Linked DNA regions of Homo sapiens: region 2 is linked to region 1. The links are contacts of gene promoters, found by promoter capture Hi-C in human tissues and cell types (Jung and others, 2019). All regions are on one chromosome and are shown on one strand. The core of a region is centred on a gene start or on the middle of the fragment in contact, and the rest is flanking DNA. Distances in the headings are between cores, read along the strand shown. Region 1 holds the start of RPRML (reprimo like). Region 2 overlaps EFCAB13 (EF-hand calcium binding domain 13).

What was found. Contacts are between HindIII fragments. The study calls those that stand out against the background at their distance.
Region 2: a fragment that was not itself captured here is called in contact with the fragment with the promoter of RPRML in region 1 in 1 of the 25 tissues and cell types used here (adrenal gland).

What each region holds. Positions count from the first base shown.
Region 1 is chr17:46,977,131-46,981,294 of GRCh38, forward strand. It overlaps RPRML (reprimo like), which reads right to left and starts at 2,123. Exons shown (of 1, transcript NM_203400.5): 1 at 1,026-2,123. The coding sequence starts at 1,877. The coding sequence ends at 1,515. It also overlaps a transcript of LRRC37A2 not described here. RefSeq lists enhancers at 228-908, 909-1,588 and a silencer at 2,066-2,245. The HindIII fragment of the contact is 12,504 bases long and covers 1-3,395 here.
Region 2 is chr17:47,327,676-47,331,839 of GRCh38, forward strand. EFCAB13 (EF-hand calcium binding domain 13) reads left to right here. Exons shown (of 25, transcript NM_152347.5): 4 at 594-708. The coding sequence starts at 679. Among named protein-coding and RNA genes, the nearest start is that of EFCAB13, 5.8 kb to the left of the region's middle. The HindIII fragment of the contact is 3,771 bases long and covers 125-3,895 here.

The DNA of each region.
Region 1 (4,164 bases), core at 873-3,372:
CTTCGAGAAACTCCCCCACCCCACCTGTGCCAAGCCTCTCCCTAATGAAACTAGTGCCAAATACACGGGATCGCATTCCCTTCGCTTCTCTTAGCTAAAAGCAGCTAAGACTTCAGTCACCTTCCTCGTTATTCTTCACTCCCACCCACAGCAAAAGAGAGAAGAAAGGGAGAAATCCAGTCTCTCCCCGACCAAGTCTTCCAAGAACCGCTTGAGCGGGGTTGGCACTAGGACTAAGTGTAGTGGGGGATACATAGGCCAGAAAGCCCAGCCTTCTCTCCTCCAGTGTCCCCAGGTCCCCCTGTCCCCAACTTCCAGAAAGCAGAGCTGTCCTCTCGCTGTCCGCTAGGGAGTAGCCAGTTCTTGCTGCTCCACACTGCTGCAAGGGAAGTTAGCACCTGCAGGAGGCGTGGGTTTCTGGGCAGCTGGGGCATCCTGTAATGGGAGGCTCCAAGTCCCCTGCAGGCAACTGCGTTTGGAGGCCATTTTCTCCATTGTATAATAAACATCCTGGGACTTCCTCACCACAAAGCCGCCAACCCCCACCCCTATGGGATGCAACAAGGGGGTTTCTTCCGTCTACTCATCTGTCCGCTATAAGGGTAGGGACAAAGCAAGCCCTTAGAAGGGGCTTTGGCCTTATAATTAAACTTTTAACTAGATCTAGTTTTCCCCTCTGCCAAATTGAATTTTCCTTGTTCACATTTTCTTCGTTTTGGACACAGCTGACTGATTTTGTTTCATCTCATATTAGACTCATATATCCAGTGATTTAATTAATCTCACCAGCTGTCTGGCTGTCCCACAGGACCTGCCTTCTCCGCTGTTGGCGTTAGAAAACGATTCCCTTTGCCTTTCCTCGCTCTGGCCTCCGCGTGGAGCCCCAGGATCCTTGACCTGACCTGTGGGCTCCCCAGCCAGGCGTCCACGCAGGGGCTAGATGTCTCCCACGGGGCTCAAAGTGTCCGCCAGGAGGGTACATGCCCTCCGCCCCGCAACACACACACACACCTCACAGGCGCGGGTGGGAAGCTGCCTGAAGCCCTACGGCTGCAGTTTTATTACAAGATTTCTTTCCAAACGCAAGATCAGGCCAACAAGCTCAGCGACTCTGACGCTTCACATCTTCACCCACTCGCACCGTGTTCCGAACCCACCCGCACCAACGTACACACAAAACTCCCACGCGAGCGACCGCAGTCCCAAATTGCATCTCCATACCCACTCCCACCCTGCCCCGAACGTCTTAAAAAACAAACAAACAAAAAAAACTGGTAAGAACCCTCACCCCACATTCTCCCACCCCGCAACGCTGCAGCGCACACAGGACAGAGCCGGGCGTCCAAGTCCCTTCCCGCGCCCCCGCCGACAGTCTCGCCGCGTCCCCGCCCGGGCGCCCCAGGCACGTAGCTGCCCGCCCGGAGGCGGCGGCAGAGCGCAGAGAGCGGGGCGAGGGTCCGGGTCTCCGGGGTCCTTCTTGCAGCAGCGCTGGCGAGGGCGGACCCAGATGGCGCTCAGTACAGCCCCAGGATGGCTGCGCCCACGTCCTTGGAGGGCCGGCGCTCCTGCACCAGAAAGTTGATCATGCTCTCGGACTTGATGAGCAGGTTGCAGCCCAGGAAGAAGACGCCGAAGACCACGGTAAGCGACAGCACGCAGAGCACGGCGATCTGCGCCACCCGCGACACCCACAGGCTGCGCTCGTCGGGCGCCAGCCCCGCGGGGACCCCGTCGCTGGCGGCCAGCGGTGCGCCCCCTGGACAGCAGCCCAGCCACGTGCCCAGCCCGTGGGTGCGGTTTCCCAGGGCGGCCCCGGCGCCGCCGCCCACGCCGTCCACCTCCTCCAAGCCGCTGTGGTTCAGGAAGGTCGCGTTCATCGCCGCGCGGCGCCGGGGGTCTCGGCGCGCAGTCCCGGGTGCACTGGGCTGCTCGCCGGGGTCCGCGCTCTCAGGGACGCTCCGGACCCCTCGGACCGGCTCCTGCGGTACGGGGAGGGGACGAAGGCGGGAGGCTGGCTGCCTGCGCGCTCTCGGGCCGCCTACCCCTGGGCACCGGGCGGGAAGCGACCGCCCGGAGGAGCGAGCAACAGGCGGCGCAGGAGCTGGAGCCGGAGAACCTAGTGTGCTTAGCGGTCGCCCGCTGGGTTCCTCGCGCGCCTGGCCGCCCCTCCCCTAGCAACGGCCCGGCCCCGCCCCGCCGGTCCCCGCGGCATCTCCGAGGGGCGGGAATCCCGCCGCGGGCGCAGCCTCCCCGGAGTCCCGGTGCTGGAGGGGGTCGGGAGATCCGGCAGCCTCTGTCCGCGGGCCGGCGAAACTCCACCCCCTCCTGGCACCCGCTGTCCGTTCTTGGCTAGAAAACCTCTCCAAGGTGCCCATTCCAGGATTTGATACCCTTAGCAGTGAAGTTATTCCGGAATCTGCCCTGACTCTCTTCGCTTATTATTTAAGCCCTCGTAAGCCTTGCTAGACATCAGATGAGTCGCCGGGACCCCTGGCGCTGCCCACTCCACTGGCCCCGGGTCTCCTGGGCGGTCCTGCCTCACAGCTTTCCCGGGGTGAAAGCTGTCGCGGCGAGGCGGGCTCTCTGCCTCCTTCCCTACACCCTCCTCTCAACTTGGTCCCATTTAACTTTTTTTTTAAATTAAAAAATAAATTACTGTTTTTTTCTTTCTTTTTTACACAAACATAGTCATTGTAGACTAGTTTAGAAAACATGAATTACCGAAATTACTCTAAAACTTTATAATCTGCCTCCTAGAGAGTGTCGATGTTATCACCTGGGTATAAACTCCTCCCAGACTTTTTCTATTTGTGCCTTTCTCTAGATAACAGATATGGGGATGCACCGTTCCTGCTTACTGCCTCCCAACCTTTCCTCACTTAACAGCGTAACTTTCCCTAGCGATGGTCCTCTACAGCTATGGCTCTGAATTGCCTTGGAGGGTTTATTAAAACCCAGATTGCTTCCACCTCCCGCCCCCAACCTCCCCACCCCAACCAACCCCAAGAGTTTCTGAATCAGATGTGGGATGGGGCCCCAGAATGTGCATTTCTAACAGTTCCCACGTGATGCACAAACTACTGAGCTACAACATCATTTTTAGTGAAGGAATGGCATTTTAAGGTATGGACTACTACAGTTTATTTAACCAAGCTTCCTGCTGGATGTCTGAGTTTTTCTTTCCTTCTTCTTCCTTCTCCCTTTCCTTCTCTCCTTCCTTCCTTCTTCTTTCTTTCTCTTCTTCTTTCTCTTCTTTCTTTCTCTTCTTTCTTCTTTCTTTCTTTCTGTCTTCTTTTTTCTTTCATCAGAAACAATATTACCATAAGGAGCCTTGTAACAAAGTATTTGTGCCAAAACTGATTTTTCTTTAGATTGTATTTTGAAAAATGGACCTGTAGAATCAAAAAGTAGGCCGGGCGCGGTGGCTCACGCCTGTAATCCCAGCACTTTGAGAGGCCGAGGCGGGTGGATCACGAGGTCAGGAGATCGAGACCATCCTGGCTAACACCGTGAAACCCTGTCTCTACTAAAAATACAAAAAAAAAAAAAAAAATTAGCCGGGCGTGGTGGCGGGCGCCTGTAGTCCCAGCTACTCAGGAGGCTGAGGCAGGAGAATGGCGTGAACCCGGGAGGTGAAGCTTGCAGTGAGCCGAGATCACGCCACTGCACTCCAGCCTGGGTGACAGAGCGAGACTCCGTCTCAAAAAAAATAAAATAAAATAAAATAAAAAAAGAAAAAAAGAATCAAAAAGTACTTCCTACTAAATTGCTTTCCAGAAATATACCAGTGTACAATCATGCCCTGTGGGGAAAGGGGGCTCCCCACCCCCAACATTGTTATCATTATTTTAAAAGTCTTTGCCTGAGTAGCGAAGGGGGGTGGGGGCAGGGGTGGTTTCTCACCCGTATGTTAATTTGCATGCTTTGATTGTTGCAGGAGAGTAAAGAAAGCACTTTGTTATTGCAATAATGCAGGCAAAAGATGCTGCCTGGAGACTTGAATTCCAGTGGTGACAGTGAAGTGGGAGACAAGGGGATGGAAAGGGCATGGCAAATTGGAGTGAAGGGATTCGGGATGCCCCAACACACAGGCATCACAGAGCCTCTGCTCCCTGTTATGGTTTGAATATGTCTCCCCAAGTTCATCTGTTGAAAACTTGACCC
Region 2 (4,164 bases), core at 760-3,259, 350 kb after region 1:
CAATCTCTTGACCTCATGATCCGCCCACCTCGGCCTCCCATAGTGCTGGGATTACAGACGTGAACCACTGCGCCCGGCCTACACCATCTTTTGTTTGCAGTAGCATTGTTTTGAAAGGCAATGTTCTATGGGACTGAAGACCACAGGCTTGGAGTTAAATTGTCTGAATTCAAATTCTGTCTCTACTATTTGCTGGCTGTGTGATCTTGGGAAACTTGACCTCTTCAAGTCTTTATCATGATATTTAGCACACAGTAAGCATTCAGTAACATGAGTGATTACTACTGTCTTAGCAGTTCTGCTTCTCAGGGTTTATTTAAATAAACAGATGTAATTGGATTTCTCAGCTTTGTATGCCATTTGAAACTGGATTTCTCAAACCACAAAAGGTAAAGTTAAGGAATTGGATGATCTGTGATTTATAGTCTACTAACTGCTTTTTCTAGTGTTTGCCCACATATCTGTGTTGGTGAAATGTTGTGTATCATACCCCAAGTCAGTGTTACATTGAAGAGATAACTTCAGGTAGGTAAATATAATTGCTTAAGTGTTCTAAACAAGCGTATGATTTCTTCTTTCTCTTTTTTTGGCAGGAAATCCTTTTGTACTATTGCTCATTCATACTTGTTCATCAAAGCCTGGAGTCCTTAAGGACAGAATTTACCTCTAAACAGAAAGATGGAAACTAAAGTACATTTATTCTGCCAGGTATTTATTTAAAACAGTTTCTAAAGATTTCTTCTTTCTTCTTTTTAAAATTAGTTTACATTACCTCATATTCATAATCAGTAAGCAAATTCATAGAGTAATAGTTATAAGGAACCTGGCCAAGTAACTGAGATGATGTTTGAGTCATTTTAGTGAACATGTATTGAACTCCCATCCCTACAACCCATATAATACTGAGAGATCTTCTGTGGTGTATGATGAGAGTATTTTGGTGGGGTACGGACCTGGATAATTTTTGTGGAGATCAAAAGGGTTAAACTTACATGAGAGGTTGTAGATAATGTAATTAATGATGTGAGAGTATAACCAAAAAATAATGTAGAGGACATCAAATTTCTTTAGCCCTCTTATCTGTACTTCAGAGTTTTATGCCCTTCTGTCTTTTTAGATGCCTCCACCTTTTTTTGCTAGTATTGTGTCAAATAAGACAAGTTTTTTCAAATAAAAACAAATCTGGACTTAGTAAGCAGAGACTTTATTCAAAATAATTATTGCAAGAGAAAAAAGGGACTATTGAAATTGGAAGAGGAGGAGGACTATTGCAATGGAAAGAATGCTGTGACCGTAAGATCTGTAGGTGTCTCAAGGGTTGGGCAGAAGTTTTCTTTTATAGAGAGACGCTGGAAAGAACCAGGTATGGGGAAATTGGATGAAATAGTAGAATGATTAGATAAGTAGATTGGAGAGTATTTTATCATGAAGTCAGTCTATTATATTCTGATTATCAGTGGGGATAAAACAGCTAATAATTTATGACGCAAAGAAAGGGAATTTTGAGGGGGTGTGTCTGGCATTGTCATAAGTAAACAAGGGGGGCATTCCAGAGTCTTACCTAAGTCATATGGGGAGGAGTGGTTTGCAGTAAGCCATTTTCCAGAACACAAAAGGGTGGGGGGATTCCTTTAACCCTCACTGTTTTCTGGGAGTTTAGGGCTCAAGTGAAATTCAGCATTGTCAATTGAGAGTCCTAATCTTTTAAATTTATCCTTGTTAAAGATCTGACGCTACTGTGTAAAACATGTACCTATACTATAGTCTGAAAAATAATCTCAGAGACTCTTGAAAAGTGCTGAGATATGTACTTTATATCATATATATACACATATATACATTTAAAATTTACCTTTTTATACCTACTACTTTGTTGATTTTGCCCTTATAAACTGATTTTGAAGATGAATTCTTAAAAATTAATATTAAAGTATCATACCGGTTTGTTTTCCTTAGACTGTATAATTTATACTTCACAGATGGCTCACCTTTTACTACAATGTTTCTGAGATTGTTTTCTTCTTCTGTGTCAAAAGCTTCTACTCTTTGTTTTCATTCACTTGGCCTTTGGTAACAGGTTTTTCTGTCTTTTTAGATTTCCTACCCCTTTTCCCCCTCAGCTTTCTATTTTGGGTCATTTTTTTCAATCTCTTTAGGAATCCTTTCATCATTTGTAATACACATCTCATCAAGGCAGCAAATCAAATTGCCTTTTTGAAACAACTTAAAGGTATGCCTTTGTTATAAGACAAATGATGCAGATTCTAAAAGTCACTGAAATAGTTCTGTTAATTTCCATCCTGTGGAAACAGAGATTCTCTCTAAACTTCCTTGGTAATCTTTATAAATTGTCTGTGTAATCTTCATGGTCACCTTTGGGTTCAAAGACTCAGGACTAATGCACCTTTGATCGACTGGATGCCGCCAGTTGTCTTAAGCAAACAGCCAGATTTCAGGAGAGAATATTTCCAACTGCATTCTTCTATTTCTAAACGTTTATTGTCACTAAACTCTATTTCTTTTTGGGGGGGTGGGGAGTGGTGTCTATTTAGAAGCAATATAGCTTCTTTTTTTTTAAATATAGGCTTTGTTTTTTGTTATTTTATTTTTTGTAGAGAAAGATATTTATTTATTTAATATTTTTTATTTCAGTAGCTTCAGGGGTACAAGTGGTTTTTGGTTACATGGCTGAATTATACAGTGGTGAAGTCTGGGCTTTTAGTGTACCTGTTACCTGAATAGTATACATTGTACCCAACAGGTAGTTTTTCATCCTTCACTTCCCTGTCCCCTCTCCACTTCTGAATCTCTACCACTCCATATGCCTTTTTGGATCCATAGCTTAGCTCCCATTTATAAATGAGAATATGTGGTATTTGGTTTTTTTGTTCCTGAGTTACTTCACTTAGGATAATGGCCTCCAGTTTCATCCAAGTTGCTGCAAAAGACATTATTTTGTTCTTTTTTATGGGTGAGTAGTATTCCGTAGTATATATACCACATTTTCTTTAACCTCTCATCAGTTGATGGGTACTTAGGTTGGTTCCATACCTTTGGTATTGTGAATTGTGCTGAGATAAACATATATGTGTAGGTTTTTTTTTTGATACAACAACTTTTTTTTCCCTTTGGGTAGATACCCAGTAGTGGGTTTGCTGGATTGAACGATAGATCTACCTTTATTTCTTTGAGAAATCTCCATACTGTTTTCTGTGGAAATTATACTAATTTACATCATCCCATCTGCACCAACATTTATTGTTTTTTGACTTTTTAATAATGGCCATTCTGGCTGGGGTAAGGTGATATCTTATTGTGGTTTTAATTTGTATTTCCCTGGTGATTGGTGATGTTGAGCATTTTTCATGTATTTGTTGACCATTTGTATATCTTCTTTTGAGAAATATCTGTTCATGTTATTTTCCCACTTTTTAATGGGAGTACTTGTTTTTTTGCTGCTGATTTGTTTGAATTCCTTGTAAATTCTGGATATTAGTCCTTTGTTGGATGTATAGTTTGCAAATATTTTCTCTCATTCTGTTGGTTGTCTGTTTACTGTGTTGATTATTATTTTTGCTGTGTAAGAGCTTCTGAATTTAATTAGGTCTCATTTATTTATTTTTGTTTTTGTTACATTTGCTCTTGGGGTCATAGTCATAAATTCTTTGCCTAAGCCAGTGTCCAGAAGAGTTTTTCCTAGGTAGTCTTCTAGAATTTTTATGGTTTCAGGTCTTAAATATGTAGACTTTTTTTTAGAGCAGTTTTAGGTTCATAAAAAAAATGAGCAGAAAATAGAGAGTTACCATATACCTACTGCCCCTATACATGCACAGCTTACCCTGCTATCAACATCCTGTACCAGAGTGGTACATTTGTTGTAATTGGTGAACCAACATTGGCACATCATTATCACTCAAAGTCCATAGTTTACATTAGAGTTCACTTTTGTTGTACATTCTATGGGTTTGAACAAATGTATTATGACATATAGTCAACATTATAGTATCATACAGAATAATCACATTGCCCTAAAATCTTCTGTGCTCTAGCTATTTACTTCTCCTTCCCCCATCCCCTGGCAAACACTGATTTTTTACTGTCTCCATAGTTTTGCCTTTTCCAGAATGTCATATAGTTGGAATTATACAATATGGAACCATTCAG